Linked DNA regions of Homo sapiens: all the other regions are linked to region 3. Evidence: promoter capture Hi-C in human tissues and cell types (Jung and others, 2019). All regions are on one chromosome and are shown on one strand. The core of a region is centred on a gene start or on the middle of the fragment in contact, and the rest is flanking DNA. Distances in the headings are between cores, read along the strand shown. Region 1 overlaps RAB31 (RAB31, member RAS oncogene family). Region 2 overlaps RAB31 (RAB31, member RAS oncogene family). Region 3 holds the start of RAB31 (RAB31, member RAS oncogene family).

The links. Contacts are between HindIII fragments. The study calls those that stand out against the background at their distance.
Region 1: a contact is called between a fragment that was not itself captured here and the fragment with the promoter of RAB31 in region 3, in 2 of the 25 tissues and cell types used here (IMR-90 fibroblasts and dorsolateral prefrontal cortex).
Region 2: a fragment that was not itself captured here is called in contact with the fragment with the promoter of RAB31 in region 3 in 2 of the 25 tissues and cell types used here (liver and mesenchymal stem cells).

The regions. Positions count from the first base shown.
Region 1 is chr18:9,798,184-9,801,019 of GRCh38, reverse strand. The region is part of intron 3 of RAB31 (RAB31, member RAS oncogene family); the gene reads right to left. Among named protein-coding and RNA genes, the nearest start is that of TXNDC2, 86 kb to the left of the region's middle. The HindIII fragment of the contact is 3,726 bases long and covers 1-2,836 here.
Region 2 is chr18:9,779,445-9,782,536 of GRCh38, reverse strand. The region is part of intron 2 of RAB31 (RAB31, member RAS oncogene family); the gene reads right to left. Among named protein-coding and RNA genes, the nearest start is that of RAB31, 73 kb to the right of the region's middle. The HindIII fragment of the contact is 8,364 bases long and covers 1-3,092 here.
Region 3 is chr18:9,706,578-9,709,688 of GRCh38, reverse strand. It overlaps RAB31 (RAB31, member RAS oncogene family), which reads right to left and starts at 1,388. Exons shown (of 7, transcript NM_006868.4): 1 at 1,245-1,388. The coding sequence starts at 1,283. It overlaps LOC124904244 (a long non-coding RNA gene), which reads left to right and starts at 1,717. Exons shown (of 2, transcript XR_007066281.1): 1 at 1,717-3,111. It overlaps LOC105371981 (a long non-coding RNA gene), which reads right to left and starts at 1,017. Exons shown (of 2, transcript XR_935131.2): 1 at 1-1,017. RefSeq lists silencers at 794-1,023, 1,124-1,693. The HindIII fragment of the contact is 12,091 bases long and covers 1-3,111 here.

The DNA.
Region 1 (2,836 bases), core at 287-2,786, 91 kb before region 3:
AAATCTAGAGACAGAAAGTATCCCAGGGCTGGGGGATGTAGAGGGGGAACTGGGAGTGACTGCTAATTCATAAGCGTTTCTTTCTGGACTGATAAAAATGCTCTAAAATGGATTGTGCTGATGGTTGAACAATTCGGAACACATCAGAACCCACCAAGGTGCGTACTTTAGATGGATAAATTGTATGGTACGTGAATCGGATCTCAGTAAAGCTGTTTTTAAATAAAAAAAAAGGGGGGCTGGTCATACTCCACATACTGATAGTCAACACAGAAACAAATGTGGACAAAAGCAATTTTCAGTGAATGTGATTTCTAACTGCTAAAGCTCCAGAGTGGGTTATCCAGAAAAGATGAAAGTTGGCTCATCTGCTTCCAAGGCCAACAGAGAATGAGGACAGAAAGCTCAGAGACAGAAGCTTGAGTGGGTCTAGAACAGGTAAGAAGGGGGTCAGGGAAAGAACTCCCTGCCAAGGAAAAAGTACAGAGAATTCCACCACTGCCGCTTCACTGGGCTCTTTTTAGAAACCATTTTCCAACATGGGGAGGGGCCGTCTGAGCCAAGAGGAAGGAATAAATATATCTTCAGAGCCATGGAAAGTCAAACATTAGCTCTACAGCTTCAGGTTTTTTAATGGGAAATTTGTGTTGGAACGTCATGAACTGTGTAAAAGTATAGCACGGTGGAAAAAAATGGAAGGGAGATGGCTGAAGAAAGTTTCAGGTTGGAAGAAGTTGGTCCTCCATGGTATATAGAGCAAGAGAACCCAGGAGGGGCCGCTGGCAGATGAAAGTATTATCCCCAGCTCTTCACCTCTTCATGAACGCATGCCTTATTTATGACAATGTTGCTTTTCAGCTCCTCTCGCTAAAAGCCACTCTATGTGTTGACTCTAGGCTCCCGCAGGGAGCTGGGCAGGTAAATTACCTTCTGTCGGCTATGGACCGCTCTAGGCATGGCTCCTGTGTACATCCTTGCAAAGGTGCCTGCTGACCTGCTACTCTGTACTGTTCACAGCTTGGTGTGAAGCAGAAACCAGCACAATAACCCATTCCAAGAGGACAGGATAAAAACTTCCCAAAGGCCACACTGATGGTACAACAGAGGGAGCCCAATGGCACTCTTCCCCTCTTCATAGTCCTTGGTGGTACAACACACCATGCACAAATCTTACTAATGTCAAGCTTCCAACAAATGGGATTCAACTGGGAAATGGTTAAATTTTTCAAAAAACATTTTTGTTAATAGATGCACCCTATGAATTACCATATCACCACTGAATGAATGAGATAGGATGCCCATGACACACAGTTGGATTAAAAAAGCAAAAGCAACATTCAGACAGTATCAAGAATGAATAGGCTGGGCACGGTGGCGCACCTGTAGTCCCAGCTACTCTGGAGGCTGAGGCGGGAGAATCGCTTGAGCCCAGGAATTTGAGACTACAATGAGCTATGATCATGCCATGGCACTCCAGCCTGGGTGACAGAGTGAGACCCTGTCTCTAAAATAAATAAATAAAAATAAATAGAATGAATACTCTCTTATATAAAGAGGAGGAGGATCCTTTGAGATTCCTGTGCTCAGGAGAAGAAAAAATAATTTTCCAAGAGTACAAATTTGTACCACAAATATAAGATAGAATTATTACTGGGCAGTAAGTAGGACATTAACCAGAATGCTGTGTATGTTAGGCAGAACTTGGTGCAATCATTCCACAAATAAATAAATATTGAATCATGAACACAAGCAAAGCACTGAGCGGAGCTTTCTTCCTTTAAGGACACAGAAATCCATGTCTTTGGCCAGGCTTGGTGGCTCACGCCTATAATCCCAACACTTTGGGAAGCCAAGTGAAATGGATTGCTTGAGGCCAGGAGTTCAAGCCCAGCCTGCACAACATAGCAAGACCTCATCTCTAACAAATTTTTTTTTTGAGGTGGAGTCTTGCTCTTTCACCCAGATTGGGGTACAGTGGTGCAATCTCAGCTCACTGCAACATTCGCCTTCTGGGTTCAAGCGATTCTCTCACTTCAGCCTCCCAAGTAACTGGGACTACAAGTGCCACCACGCCCAGCTACTTTTTCTATTTTTAGTAGAAACGGGGTTTCACCATGTTGGCCAGGCTGGTCTCGTACTCCTGACCTCGTGATCTGCCCGCCTCGGCCTCCCAAAGTGCTGGGATTACAGGCGTGAGCAACTGTGTCTGGCCCAATTTTTTTTTTTTTTTTAAATTAGCTGCGCATGGTGGCATACACTGGTAGTCTCAGCTACTCAGGAGGCTGGAGCAGGAGGATTGACCAGGCCTGGGAGTTTGAGGTTGCAGTGAGCTATGATTGCATCACTGCACTCCAGCCTGGCTGACAGAGTGTGACCTTGTCTTAAAAAGATAAAATAAAATAAAATAAGAAAGAAAAAAAGAAATCTGTCTTTATATTGTCAAATCATAAACCCAAAGTGATTGTTTGTTTAAAATTATGAAAACTAAAAGAACAATAACATTTCTATGATGATAAAGAGGGGTAATAAAATTCACGGGACTCCAATAATTAATGAGACAGAACAAATAGCAATAGGCACAAGCAACAGCAGGGAATTTATTTTTAGCTCAAACATTAGGCAACATCATTACAAGCACAATTAAAGCCAGCAACAAGCTGCCAAAACAATTGAAAAATTGCCATTACTGGAGAGATGCAAGACTCCACCAGGGGACACCAGACAAGGACAGCCCAAGGATAATGAAATCAGGCCGTCGAGGGCTGGGGAGATCAGGTGACCACATAGCCACATGGATATCAGTCACACACTCTCCACAAATCTAGACTCTAAAAAT
Region 2 (3,092 bases), core at 29-2,528, 73 kb before region 3:
CATACACACACACTCAAGATGTTAATGCAATCTGCTTGAATAGCAGAGCCAAGGTTTTTCAGTGTGAGTCAGAGAGGCCATAAGAGTTAACTCTTTTAATGCTGAAGCAATGGCATTTTACAGCCCATGGCATTGTACCAATGGTCGTGTGATTCCAGTGGGAAGAACAAGGGTGGGCTTTGAGAGTGGACTCACTGGTGTGAGCCATGAGTGGGCTGCTCACGGGCTGTGTGCACCTAGGCAAGTCCCCTAACCGCCCTGGGCCTGGGGGTGGCCAGCAGGGTTACCGCCAAGAAGGCAGTGCCAGGGCCAGGAACTGAAATGTCTAGGGACCAGGCAGGACATATAAATGAGTGAAGCAGGCTAGGTGTGAACGTTTATACTGATGAACATAATAGTAACAATACCTAGCGGGAATGGCATGAAGCCGGGAGGCCTGGCCACCCATGCGGAGTGGCACCGGCTGGCTCCCACCACATGGGAATGGGCACCAGGGCTCCAAACCCACTGATTTTTCAAGAGAAACCAGGAATGCAAGTTTATTACGTGCCAGTCTCCTGATTCTCTATTGGCTTAAAGTCTTTACAGCACTGTGAAGGCTGAACAAAACAAATATATTAATATAAGCCAGTTCCTCAGCCCACCGAACCTACCAGCTTTTGGGAAAGCACTCAAACGTTTTAAAAGTGTTCCATTTATGCCACCTTCCAGGAAAACTGCATGTGTCACTTAGAAAGTGTTCCCACTAGCTTTATTTTTCTGCAACTGGTGTTTGAAAACATTTTCTCAAAATTCCAGAGGGAAAATTTTCATCAATTTTTAAATCAAGAAGTTAAATTATATCAAGAAGACAATACATAAGGGTGGAGGGGCTGAGCCTAACATTGACTCCAGAGGAAAAGCAAGGGACGAGGTAGAAAGCGAACAGGGCTGGGCGCGGTGGCTCACGCCTGTAAACTCCTTTGGGAGGCCAAGGCGGGCAGATCAGCTGAGGTAAGGAGCTCGAGACCAGCCTGGCCAACATGGTGAAACCCTGTCTCTACTAAAAATACATCAGCCAGGCGTGGAGGCGAGTGCCTGTAATCCCAGCTACTTGGGAGGCTGAGGCATGAGAATTGCTTGAACCTGGGAGGTAAAGGTTGCAGTGAGCCAAGATCGCGTCACTGTGCTCCAGCATGGGCAACAGAGAAGACTCTGTCTCAAATAAAAAAAAAGAAAAAAGAACAGCACACAATACCATGCTGCCATCATGTAAAATTGTTTTAACAAAGAAACATTAAGCTACGAGAAAATGCGAACATTTGAAGTTAGAGGAAAAGAATAGAATTCAAAATCATACAAACTTTTACAATTTTATAAAGTTAAAAATTGTACAAAAAAAAATACCTAAAGCTGGTACAGAGATAACCTTTCCGAAAAACAATTTGGTAATATCCATTGAGAGCCTTAAATAGATTTTTATTCTTGGACTAAATTATTCCATTGCTAAGAGTTTAACCTAAAGAAATAATCAGCAGTATACATGGGTATCTATGCCCAACGAGGTACATCATAACATTATTTATTTATGTTTTGTTTTGTTCTGTTTTGTTTTGTTTTTTGAGACAAGAGTCTCACTCTGTCTGTCACCCAGGCTAGAGTGCAGTGGCACAATCTCGTCTCACTGCAACCTTTGCCTCCCGGGTTCGAGCGATTCTCCTACCTCAGCCTCCCAAGGTAGCTGGGATTACAGGCGTGCACCACCATGCCTGGCTAATTTTGCATTTTTAGTAGAGATGGGGTTTCACCATGTTGGCCAGGCTGGTCTTGAACTCCCGACTTCAGGTGATCCATTTGCCTTGGCCTCCCAAAGTGCTGGGATTACAGGCGTGAGCCACCGTGTCTAGCCTCATAACATTATTTATAAAAGTACAAAAGTGTTTAAACAACCTAAATGCCTGAAGTGAAAAATACAACCATTAAAAATTGTTTTTAAAGACTATTTAATGGCATGAAATTCACAAAATGATGTTGAATAAATAACGCATACACACACTTATACAAGAAAAGGGCTGGAAGAAAATAACAAAATGTTTACAGTAATTACCTCTAAGAGGTAGATTATGGGTTTTTAAAATATTTTTCCTCATGTTTTTTTCATTTTCAGTTGTTTATGATGAGTATATAATACTTTTATAATCAGAAAAAATACTTTCAACATGTTTTTGAAGATTATGTGACACTGTAAAAAATGTTCAAAATATATTAAGTAGAAAACACAGAGTAAAAAAAAACTGTATGTACACTAAGATTCCTAGTTTCATGAATTCTGTGTTCTTTGGGTTTTTTTTAGAGTGAACATGAACTTTTTTTTTTTTTTTTGGAACAGTATTTCACTCTGTTGCCCTGGCTGGAGTAGAGTGGCACAATCATGGCTCACTGCAGCCTCAACCTCCAGGTCTCAGGTGATCCTCCTACCTCAGCCTCCCAAGTAGCTAGGACTCCAGGCACATGCCACTACACCCAGTTAATTTTTGTATTTTTTTGTAGAGACCAAGTTTCGCCCTGTTGCCCAGGCTAGTCTCAAACTCCTGGGCTCAAATGTTCCACCTGCCTCAGCCTCCCACAGTGCTGGGATTATAGGCAGGAGCCACCACGCCCAGTCGAACATGAACTTTTATAATCAAAACAATTAGACTTTAATCTTGTCTGTGTCACAATTAAAGTTGAGTCACCTGTGTAAGCCCTATTGCACAACTGCCTGCTTCTATTGAGGTCCCTTTGGTTGCAAGACTCGGAAACCCAACCAGCTTGGCTTAAGCCCAAAGGAGGGGTGAGGTAAGGGTTGTGACCTTCAGCAAACACAAATACAGGATGCCAGTTCAATTTGAATTTCAGATAAAGAACTAATAAATTTTTAGTATACACATGTCCCAAATATTGCACGGGGCATACTTGTATTATACCCTAATTGCAGCCTGCAACTTAATAACAAGTTAACAGTCATCACTTGGCAGCCTGACTCAGTTTCCCAGAGGCTGGCAACCAGCAGTGAAAAAGAATAAGGAGGACCTAAGTGGACTGGGAATGTATGTTGTGGCTTGTTAGGTAAA
Region 3 (3,111 bases), core at 139-2,638:
GGGCCTTCCCAGATCCTCTGGAATTCTAAGCCAACCGGACAATCGAGTTAGCGTAAGGGATGGTTTTGGAAGAGGCCGGTGATGGGAGCCGATGATGGGAGCCTGCCGGAGGTTCCACAAGAGCCTAGAGGAAGCCTAGAGACGCTGGCACAATTCAGTCCTCACCGAAATCATTTCCTCTTTCTACAGTTCTTGTACCCCCATCTTGACAGATCAGTTCGCACAAGAATGCGACCCTTTCGCTGCCCTTTTTTAGGAAATGGTTTTCATGAGACCAGCTTTGCCAATGACACGGGCGGGTACACCAGATGCTAATGGCTGCTGAAAACGCCCTTAGAACCGGCTCTTCTTTTAGAAGAAGGAATTCTGGAATGCGGAGTGGGCCCCCGAAAGGAAGCGACCCTACGTTTATCTGAATTCCCAGGGGCGGTTCGCCAGCGGCTCCCTGCGTCCTCGCCGGGTCCCCTGTCTGCAGTCCCCGGGCCGCACGGATTGACTGCTTTTTTGTTTCTGGCTGCTTTAAGGCTTCTTCGGGCGGAGAAAACCCCACTTTAGGGGAGTGATGGTGGGGAGGACTTTCCCAGGCAGCTTCTTTCACCCGCAGCAGGGAAGTTTGCAGGGCGCGCTCCGCACAGGTCACTGCCTCACCTTCCACCCCGGCCGCGCCCTCGGCTTTCACCCCCTTGGCTGGGTTCGCTTTTGGTTTTATTTTTCTGTTTTACGTGAGTAAATCAATTGCCCCCAGGAGGCAAAAGAGCACTCAGCGACTTGGCTGAGCAACTTAAACTTTCTGCCGGAAGGAAACTATCAAAAGCGGAGGAGAAAGCCCTCGGGGCCCCAGACTCGCCGCCACTGCCCCGTCCCCGCTGGGGGTCCCCGCGAGGTCGCCGCGGATCCGGGGACTCGCGGGCCGGGAGGAAAGAGCGGAGTAAGCCCGGGGCAGGCTCGGACCCGGACCCCGGCAGGGTGAGAGCGGGGGCGGACCAGAGGGGCGCACGGACGGCGGGGAGGCGGAGAACAGGCGGGGTGCGGAGAGCGAGGGGCGCGGAGAGCGAGGGGCGCACGGACTAGGGGAGCCAGGGGGACCCGGGGAACCAGGGGGCGCGCGGACGAGGGGGACGGGGGCTACGAGAGGGGTGCGGAGAGCGAGGGGATCACGGGGACTGAGCGCGCAGGGAATAGGGGAGCGAAGGGGCGCGAGAGCGCGGGCCGGGGTCCGCCGGCGGGTGGCGGCCAGGACTCACCCCGAGAAGGCACACTTTGAGCTCCCGTATCGCCATCATGTGCTCGCAGCCAGGCAGTGCCGGGGCTCAGCAGCATCCTCCGGGGCCGCCGCGCCCGCGCCCCGCCGGCGTCTCTCGCCTCTGCCCCTCGCTCGCGCCGCCCGCGGGCGGAACCGCCGCCGCTGCTATTTCTGGGCCGCCGGCCCCGCCGCGGTGGGTCACGTGGCCGCCGGCCGGCTCCTCCCGGGCGCGTCGGGTCCAGCCTCGCCGGCCCCCAGCTCCCAGGAACGCCCCCGGACGGCGTCAGCCACCCGGGACCTGCGGCGTCGCCGGCGGATTGCCTCCGCCCTCGGACCAGCCCCGCGCGGGTCGGCCTCCCCCAGCGCCCTCCGGCATCCGCCCCTCCCGGCCCCGCCTGGCCGCAGGGCCCGGGTGGGTAGGAAGGACTGGACCGGCCCTGTGGAGACCTGGCCCCACTACCAGCGGGTCCCTGAAGATGCCATTCTCATCTGGAAAGCGAATGCTCTCGGCCGAGGCCGTTTGCGTGGCAGCGCGTGGAGGTCTGCGGGGGTCCCATCCTCAAGCGACATTCTGGGTCCCACGCAGAAAAAGTCAGGCCACTGAAGGGGCCGCTGTGAGGACAGGGGTGAGGAGAAGGGGGCTAACTTTTCGGCCTGCCTTTCTCGACGTTCCTAATACCCGAGCTTCCGTTTAACATATGTGTGGCTCTTCAGCTCAGCCAAGTTCATTTTTCTGTATGCAGCTGAAAATGATTCTAGAAGCAAAACTCGCTGTCCGTGTCTGAAACGGGAAACTTGCTTTCTGGAGCAAAAGTCTTTTTCTCAGTAGAGCAAATCCTGCAACTCGTGTGGGCAGAAACCCAGTCCTCAGAGGTACAGGTAGAAACGTGGAGATCCCAGCAGACCCCTGCATCGTTCCTAACTGGGAAATGAGCAGAGTCTGTGGCCGCACACAGTCGGGGAGGCTTGGGTAACTGTGTTCTCTTCTCCATGTATGGCCTAGAGCACCTCATCCACTCGGATGACTTCATTCGTTGCTGCTACAGAAATGTCAGCCTTTTCAATGTAATCTATCTGAACAATTCACTGGCATTTCAGATGGGAAATGTTTTTTTAAAAACTGATTTTTTGAAACTTCATCTCCTATCCCAAACTCTCAGGCCTCTCTCTTAACCTTCCAATTTTAATCAATGGCATTTCCATTCTCCTAGCAGACCACCCACCGTGATCATCTGGCTTTGTTCTTACGGAAGCCAGGTTGAAGCTACCCAGTACCCAAGTAGCCCCATCCAATGGGAAATTCCAAATCAAGGCCTCCAAAGAGATAAGTCCTGGAATACAGGAGTCAAAATGGGCCCCGAAACAGACAATTCACAATTAAATTCCCCAGAAGAGCAGGAAGTTTGCCCTCGAGGTGCAGGCTTGTAGAGATTACTCAAATGGACTAAACTGTACAAAAGGCAGCCATGGACAAGTTACAGGTCCATTGTATCAGTATCCGTCCTTGACTCTGTATCCAAAGCAGAGTCTTCTATGTGGGCAGGGTAAAAAGAGGCTTCCCCAGAATCAAACAGTCCTGATCACAATATCTCCCTGCCCTCAGATTTGCTAATCAGAAAACCACCCCTACACAGTTGCAAAGACACCTCCCCCAAGGCCTTCGCCAGCCCTGAGGGCACCTCCACAGTGAAACATGTCCTTTTGGCTTTCCAGCTTGATTCCCAAAAGCCAGTCAAACCAGGGTGGAAGCCTCCACTGTGTTCTACATCCCGTGCAGTGAGTGGAGCTTTGTGAAGTTGCCTTAGATTGCTAAGGGCAGAACTGTGCCCAGACAGAAATAGGCAAACCGAATTTCTCTTGTGTTCCCT